Linked DNA regions of Homo sapiens: region 2 is linked to region 1. The links are contacts of gene promoters, found by promoter capture Hi-C in blood cells and fetal thymus (Javierre and others, 2016). All regions are on one chromosome and are shown on one strand. The core of a region is centred on a gene start or on the middle of the fragment in contact, and the rest is flanking DNA. Distances in the headings are between cores, read along the strand shown.

Region 1 (3,027 bases), core at 276-2,775:
GAGGGGGTGGAGCCGCCGGGGAGGGCGGTGCCGCGGGGAGCGGAGCCCAGCCTCTCCCCCCACCCCCTTTGGTGCCGGAGTCTCAGTGACACAAAAAGCTCTCGCTCGGTGCCGAGCGCCTGGCGGCGGTGTCCGACCGCGAACGCGGAGGGCGGCCGGGCAGGTGGGGGTGCCGCCCGAAGGGCCGGGCCGGGTGCTGGGGCTGCAGGCGCCGCCGCCGCGCTGTCAGCGTCCGCCCCGTGGCTCTCGGCCGGAGGAGCGGCGGCCGCCGGCCCGGGGCGCGAGTCTGGCTGAAAGGAGCGGGCGCGCCGGGACCACCCGGCGATGCTGTCGCCGCCGCCGCCGCCTCTGTAGCGAGCACCCGAGCCCGCCGCGGAGAAAGGTCAGTGAGTTTCGGTTTGTTTCTCTGCTCTGCCGGCTCCGGATCGGGGGCGGACAGAGGGGTGCGCAGGGATGTCTGCGCCCCTACGGCGGCCGCGCCGAAGCCGTGGAAGCGGGAAAGGGCAGCTGCCGCCTGCTGTAACTGGGGAGATCTTCTGGACCGCGGAGGGGGTGGCGGGGCCGCAGGGTCCCGGGGAGGGGAGCGCGGGGTCTGGCGGGGCACGGGGGAGGTGGTCCCGGGAGTTGCGTGTCTCCTGAGAGCTGGCGGAGTTGGGCGGGCGGCCGCGGCGGGGAGCGGCGCTGTCGGCTGCTCGGCCGAGTCCTCGGATGCCCCCTGGAGCTCCGGTCCGAGGGAGCTTTCCTCGTGCCCGCGCCGCGCGCGCCCCTGGGTGTGCACGTGCGCGCGCGCCCGCCCCAGTTGCGCCCCCGGCCCGCACACACCCCGGCTCATCTTCTCCCGGTCCCCTTGTCTCGCGCCTTCTCCAGCCCTAGAAGTTGCCCCAGGGCCCCTCCCGGGATTAGAGAGCGCTGTGAAGGGCCAGATGTTGGGGGTCTTTTGTGCAGACACACGCGCCTGGGGCGCTTGCTCCTGGAAGGACAGCGGCAGGACAAAGCCAGCTGGACTCGTGGGGCGCTGCTCGGGAAGCGGCGGTCCCCAATCCCGCCTGGGGTCGGGGCATGGCTTGGGGAGCGCTGCCTGGGTCTGGAGAGAGTAGAGAAATCGCCAAAGCAGAGTGACGGTGACTTGATGAGGTGACGGTGACTTGATGAGGTGGCGGTGACTTGATGAGGTGGCGGACAGGGGCAAACGAAAGAAAGATGCTCGGGATTGCCGCGCTGTGTGCCTGTCTGCGCGGCTGACTAGGCGCCCCGCATTCCCATATGACCGGGTTACCTGGTAGATTTTGCCAGTGTGTCTTTGCCCCAAGATGTTATTCCCCACCTGCTCCGATTTCTTTCTTTCCTAGGGCTTACTGTTGCTAGTAGGCGCTCTGCCACCAGAGGGGAACTCGTGGGCGGGGGAGACTGCGGAGGAGGGGGGAGGTGGTTATTTATCCTGTAGAGACAATTAGGAGCCGTGACGCCCCCTTCTCGGCCGCCAGCCCTCCACACCTCATCTGCCTTGCTCCACCTCCCTAGTGCACCCGCTCCAGCCCCGTCTGCCCAGGAGGGCGCTTGGATTTCCTTCTCCGCGGCGCGTATCTAACCCTTCCTGCATGTATTTCACTGCAGGCTGAAGAAAGCTCAGTCTCAATTGTGTTTCCTGCCTGTCAGCCTCTTGCCTCCTAAACGTGTACCATTTCCACTTGATGTCATCACGCAGAAGGGGTGAAAGAGACTCGGTGACAGATACAGGTAACCCCCCACGATCTGGGTAGCGCCTGGGTGTCTCTGGGTCATTTGGGCCGACAGTGCTGGCACAGGGCTGTTTGGGTGGTTTCTGCATCAACATCGTTCCTATCTGTGAGAAGGTGTGGGGGCTGCTAAAACTCCTGGTTCAAAGAAATAAATTGCAAATGACTTTATACCTTCCCTTTGAAGAAGCCATTGGAGGTAGGTGCAGGGTGAATTTGGGATTGTAGAAATCCCACCTGGTTTCCTTTCATGGGAATTTTGATATAATTCATACACAGGCAGTTGTATCTGAATGTTAGGTTTCCATAGATGCCTGCTTTCTTATCTGTAGTAATAGATTTAGGCTTCAGTCTAGAGGTGGGGTATCCTTTGTTGAAAAGGTATCATTGGAAGGCTGATTGTACTTTTGCCCAGTGCTCTAATTGAGCACCGGTCAAATGCAGTGACCTTCGTATGAAATACTGTCTTTCTTCTGTTCCTTCATTGTAATAGTGTTTGCAATATTAAGAGAGACATGCTAGCAGTGAGTACTGGGAGGTGGAAGGGAGGGCTGTTGGGGGCAGCAGAAAGAGAACAGAGAAAACAGCTTGAGTGAAGTTTCCATTTAGATAGCCATGAACCAGTAGACTCTCATTCTGGATTTTATCTTTAGGTTATTGGGGCTTTTCCAAAAACTCTGGCCTGTTCTTTTCTTTCCAAGGATAGTTCTGTTTTGATGTCAGCCTAGCCAGATCTGGGGTTATCTTGATAAGAGTGCAATGAAAAAACGTAACCTTCAGACTTAGCAGGACACTCCGGCATTAGCATTTTCTGCTAGAGGGCAGAGTCCTGCGCATCCTACACTAGTAGCAGGGAATAAGAATGGTTATGGAAATGGGCTTTCGATTTTTCTTGTAGGAAGACAGATTGCTGAGGGCCAAAGGCTCCTGGTCTACTCTCTTTTACATTGCAGTAACACCTTGGTATCTGTGACAGATTCTCTCTTCACCATTTTCCTCCAAATCCCTTGAAAAATGAAGTTAAAAACTTGAAAGATTTATTATTCACCTCCAATGTAGTTTTGTTTTGGAAGGTGACTTTAAAAACATAGGTGACACTAGCATTTATCCTTCTACTACAAGCATTCAGGAGTCACTAGTAAAAGCAGTTGAGTTATCTAGTCCCAGGTGAAACAAAGGCCAGTGCTTTGCAAAGATCAGATGAGTAATGTGGTGCTAAGATAGAGGTATTTTTGACAAGTAATTTTTATGTCAGCAATAGTACAGGGTGTGTACTGTGTTGCTGCAAGAA
Region 2 (3,027 bases), core at 349-2,848, 570 kb after region 1:
AATGGACTTCAGGCAAGTTCTTTTCTTTCGCTTGCATTGTCTAATCTATAATCTGATATCTGATCAAACTATCTCCCAGGATGGTTAGGAACTCAAAACAGATCCATCTGTGAGAGATATACCAGGAAGAGGTTGCAGATGTCATCTCAATTGCAATGGGAGACTAAGAGGCCAACAGAGGCAGTTAGAGCTAGGAGTATGCCCAATTCATACAACCTCTTGGGGTCAGTAATCTGTATGAGTACTGTGTGCTGAAACAGAGAATTTTGGCTATGACTTTTTCGCATGGTTAGGGTCCACTACAGTGAGCACCTGGAAGGGAAGAGACAGCAGAAATGTGGAAGAGTGAGGTGAGGGTGAATAACGGTAAGGGAAAATAGAATGTGGAGGAGAAAGTAAGGGAATTATTGAAATCCTAATGGCCAGTTTGTCTGTTTTGCCTTTCATATAGTTCATAAGTAAAAAGAAATAGAATAGAGAAGGAAAGAAAATCTAGAAAGTTTGCGAAAGAAGAGGAGAGCATCGTAACCTGCCATTCCAGGTGCTTTTTGTTGCAAGGATTCTTTTGATGAAAAGAAGAGCTGTCCAACAAGAGATTATGTGGCTGGGTACCCTATCAGTTCACTTAGGAGGTAGCCAAGGGAAATATTTTTCAGTAAATCAAATATTTTTCAACAAGAAGTTTGTTGTGAGCTTTAGATCAATAGAGAAAATAGATTTATTTTGGAGAATGTATAGGAGAAAAAGGGACAGAACTCTTAGAAGAAATTTGTGATTTTATTTAGCATGTTTAGGGCTAAAAATTCTCACCATTCTTTCCAGAAATAAAGCAGTGGGATTGAAACAATCGGGCCTTCTTTGGGGATGGTGATATTTTTGGAAAGGAAAAAGACAGATTTGGGGATATAGAATTATAACTGCAGGAGAAGCTGGAGTTAAACCACATTCCAGGAACTTTTCACCTAAGGGGCAAAGGACTATGGGTTTGTGTATGATGGGGCTGATGATGTTGAGGATGACACCAACAGTAATAATAACAACGCATTTACTACACGTATACCATGTGCCAGAGACTGTACCCAGCAATTGCATACATTATATCACTTAAGATGAAATAATAACCTGTCAAACCACCACCATTTAAGATGGCCTCCACAGATGAGGACAGCCAGGCTGAGACATGTTAAGCTTATTTTATAAGTCCAAAGATAAACAAATTATAGGTGCAGCTTAAGAAATTATTCCAGGAAATATGCTGTTCGTGGAAGCCTTCCAGGTGTGGAGAACAAGGACCCAGAAGTGATGTCTTTATGTTGATGGAGAGTCTCTGTGAGGAAGAAGGGCCGATCTTCCCTACTGTCTGAGCCCAGCCAGGGGGAGACAGGAGGGACAGAACAGGCGCCATCTGCCCTCACCGGTGCATGGGCGCCACCTACAGGTGTAAGGCGAGATAGGATGAGGGGAGCCACAGAAGACCGAAGGCAAAATGCAGAGAGGATGGGAAATGGGGAGGTGGTGAGTATTATATAGATCAGTCAGAAGAGCTGTCAACAGCATGGGATTAAGACAGCCCTGCTCAACAATGGACATGATAATCCATTGCCCCAGAAGACGGGTCCATAGTGGAAGAAAGAAGTGAACGGGCCTTCTAGAGGTGTGAACTGCAGAGATCCAAGACCATGAGAATGACTAATCCATAGAACATGGGACCCAAACCCCAGAGGTAAGGATATAGGAGAAGAGAACTAGTGTATCCCCTAGGATAAGTAGGAGAAGGTGGAGGAAGCCTTGTGGATCTAAGAAAAGTCATCTGTCCCTTCTTACAATTTTAAAGCAAGTAGCTCAGGCAGGTAAGATGTGAGTGAAGCTGGCTCCTGGAGGGCTTCAGCACACAACACCAGGCAAAGATGTAGCCTGAAGAACAGGGGTGAAGTACTAAGTGGGGGTTTCTGCATATTAAGAACATAGGCCTGTGGTTTTATAACACTTGTCAGTATGATTAAGCTTGGGGTTAGGTGTGGGTTGGTTAGAGTTGGGTTAGGGCTAATGAATAGTTGTCCTAAAGATGCATGAGATGAAATCTGGGAAGGAGCTTATATGAAAGTGAATCAAGAACAAAAAAAGGTCAAGCTTGTGAATGTATTGAATAAGGAAGTGTATCTCGGGAGAAGAGGTGAAGCAATGGAAAAAAAGACTGACTGATAGAGGTGACAGTTTAGTCAATGTAAGAAAATAGATTGAAGTATTTCTTTCTTCCTTTTTCTTTTTCTTTTTCTTTATTTACATCCACCTCAGTGTCCCAGCCCACCACGATAATAATAGCAGTAGTTAATGTTGACTGAATGTCTACAATGCTCTAGGAACTGTTTTAAGAGTCATATGCACTAGCTCATGTATTCCTTCTGACAGTTCTAGAGGTGCTACTCTTATTGCCCTTCATGTGAAAAAGGACATCAAAGGCAGAGAGGCAAAAAAAGCACACTCAATGTTATACAGGTAGTAAGAGCTAAAGCAGGAAATGCAGTTCAAGTGTTGGGATTTCAGTCTATATCCATTACCATGATACTCGATTGCTTCTTAGTGCGTATCTATCCACCTCTTTATAGGCCAAAATATGTTAATGAAATGATACATGACCTCCCCAAATGGACAGATGTATGTATAACAAAAATATAAATTGTGACTGCAGAATGTGCAGAGGCCCTTATAGTCCTATCTTACTCTTGGGGCTACATTTGCAGGGTTATTATAGTGGTAACCTATAGCTGCACACAAATGATCCCAAATTTAGTGGCTTACAAACCAACCAGAAACATTTGTTATTGCACAGTTTCTGTACACCAGAAATCTACAGACAGCTTGGCAGGGTAGTTCTGGTTCTGAGTCTCATGAGGTGAGAGTTAAGCTGTTGGCGGGGGGCTGCAGCCACCTCAAGGCTCTAGTGGTGGAGTGTTGTTTCTGACTCTCTCCGTGGTTGCCGGCAGCCCTCAGTATCTTGCCATGTGGCTTATCCCCAGGCTGCTAACT

What was found. The method cuts DNA at HindIII sites, captures the fragments that hold promoters and counts their contacts. A CHiCAGO score of 5 or more calls a contact.
Region 2: a contact is called between a fragment that was not itself captured here and the fragment with the promoter of RNF152 in region 1, in 1 of 17 cell types (total B cells). The highest score is 5.8, in total B cells.

Annotation. Positions count from the first base shown.
Region 1 is chr18:61,891,505-61,894,531 of GRCh38, reverse strand. It overlaps RNF152 (ring finger protein 152), which reads left to right and starts at 1,525. Exons shown (of 2, transcript NM_173557.3): 1 at 1,525-1,737. RefSeq lists silencers at 1-119, 190-339. The HindIII fragment of the contact is 8,244 bases long and covers 1-3,027 here.
Region 2 is chr18:61,320,847-61,323,873 of GRCh38, reverse strand. No RefSeq gene overlaps it. Among named protein-coding and RNA genes, the nearest start is that of CDH20, 11 kb to the left of the region's middle. The HindIII fragment of the contact is 816 bases long and covers 1,191-2,006 here.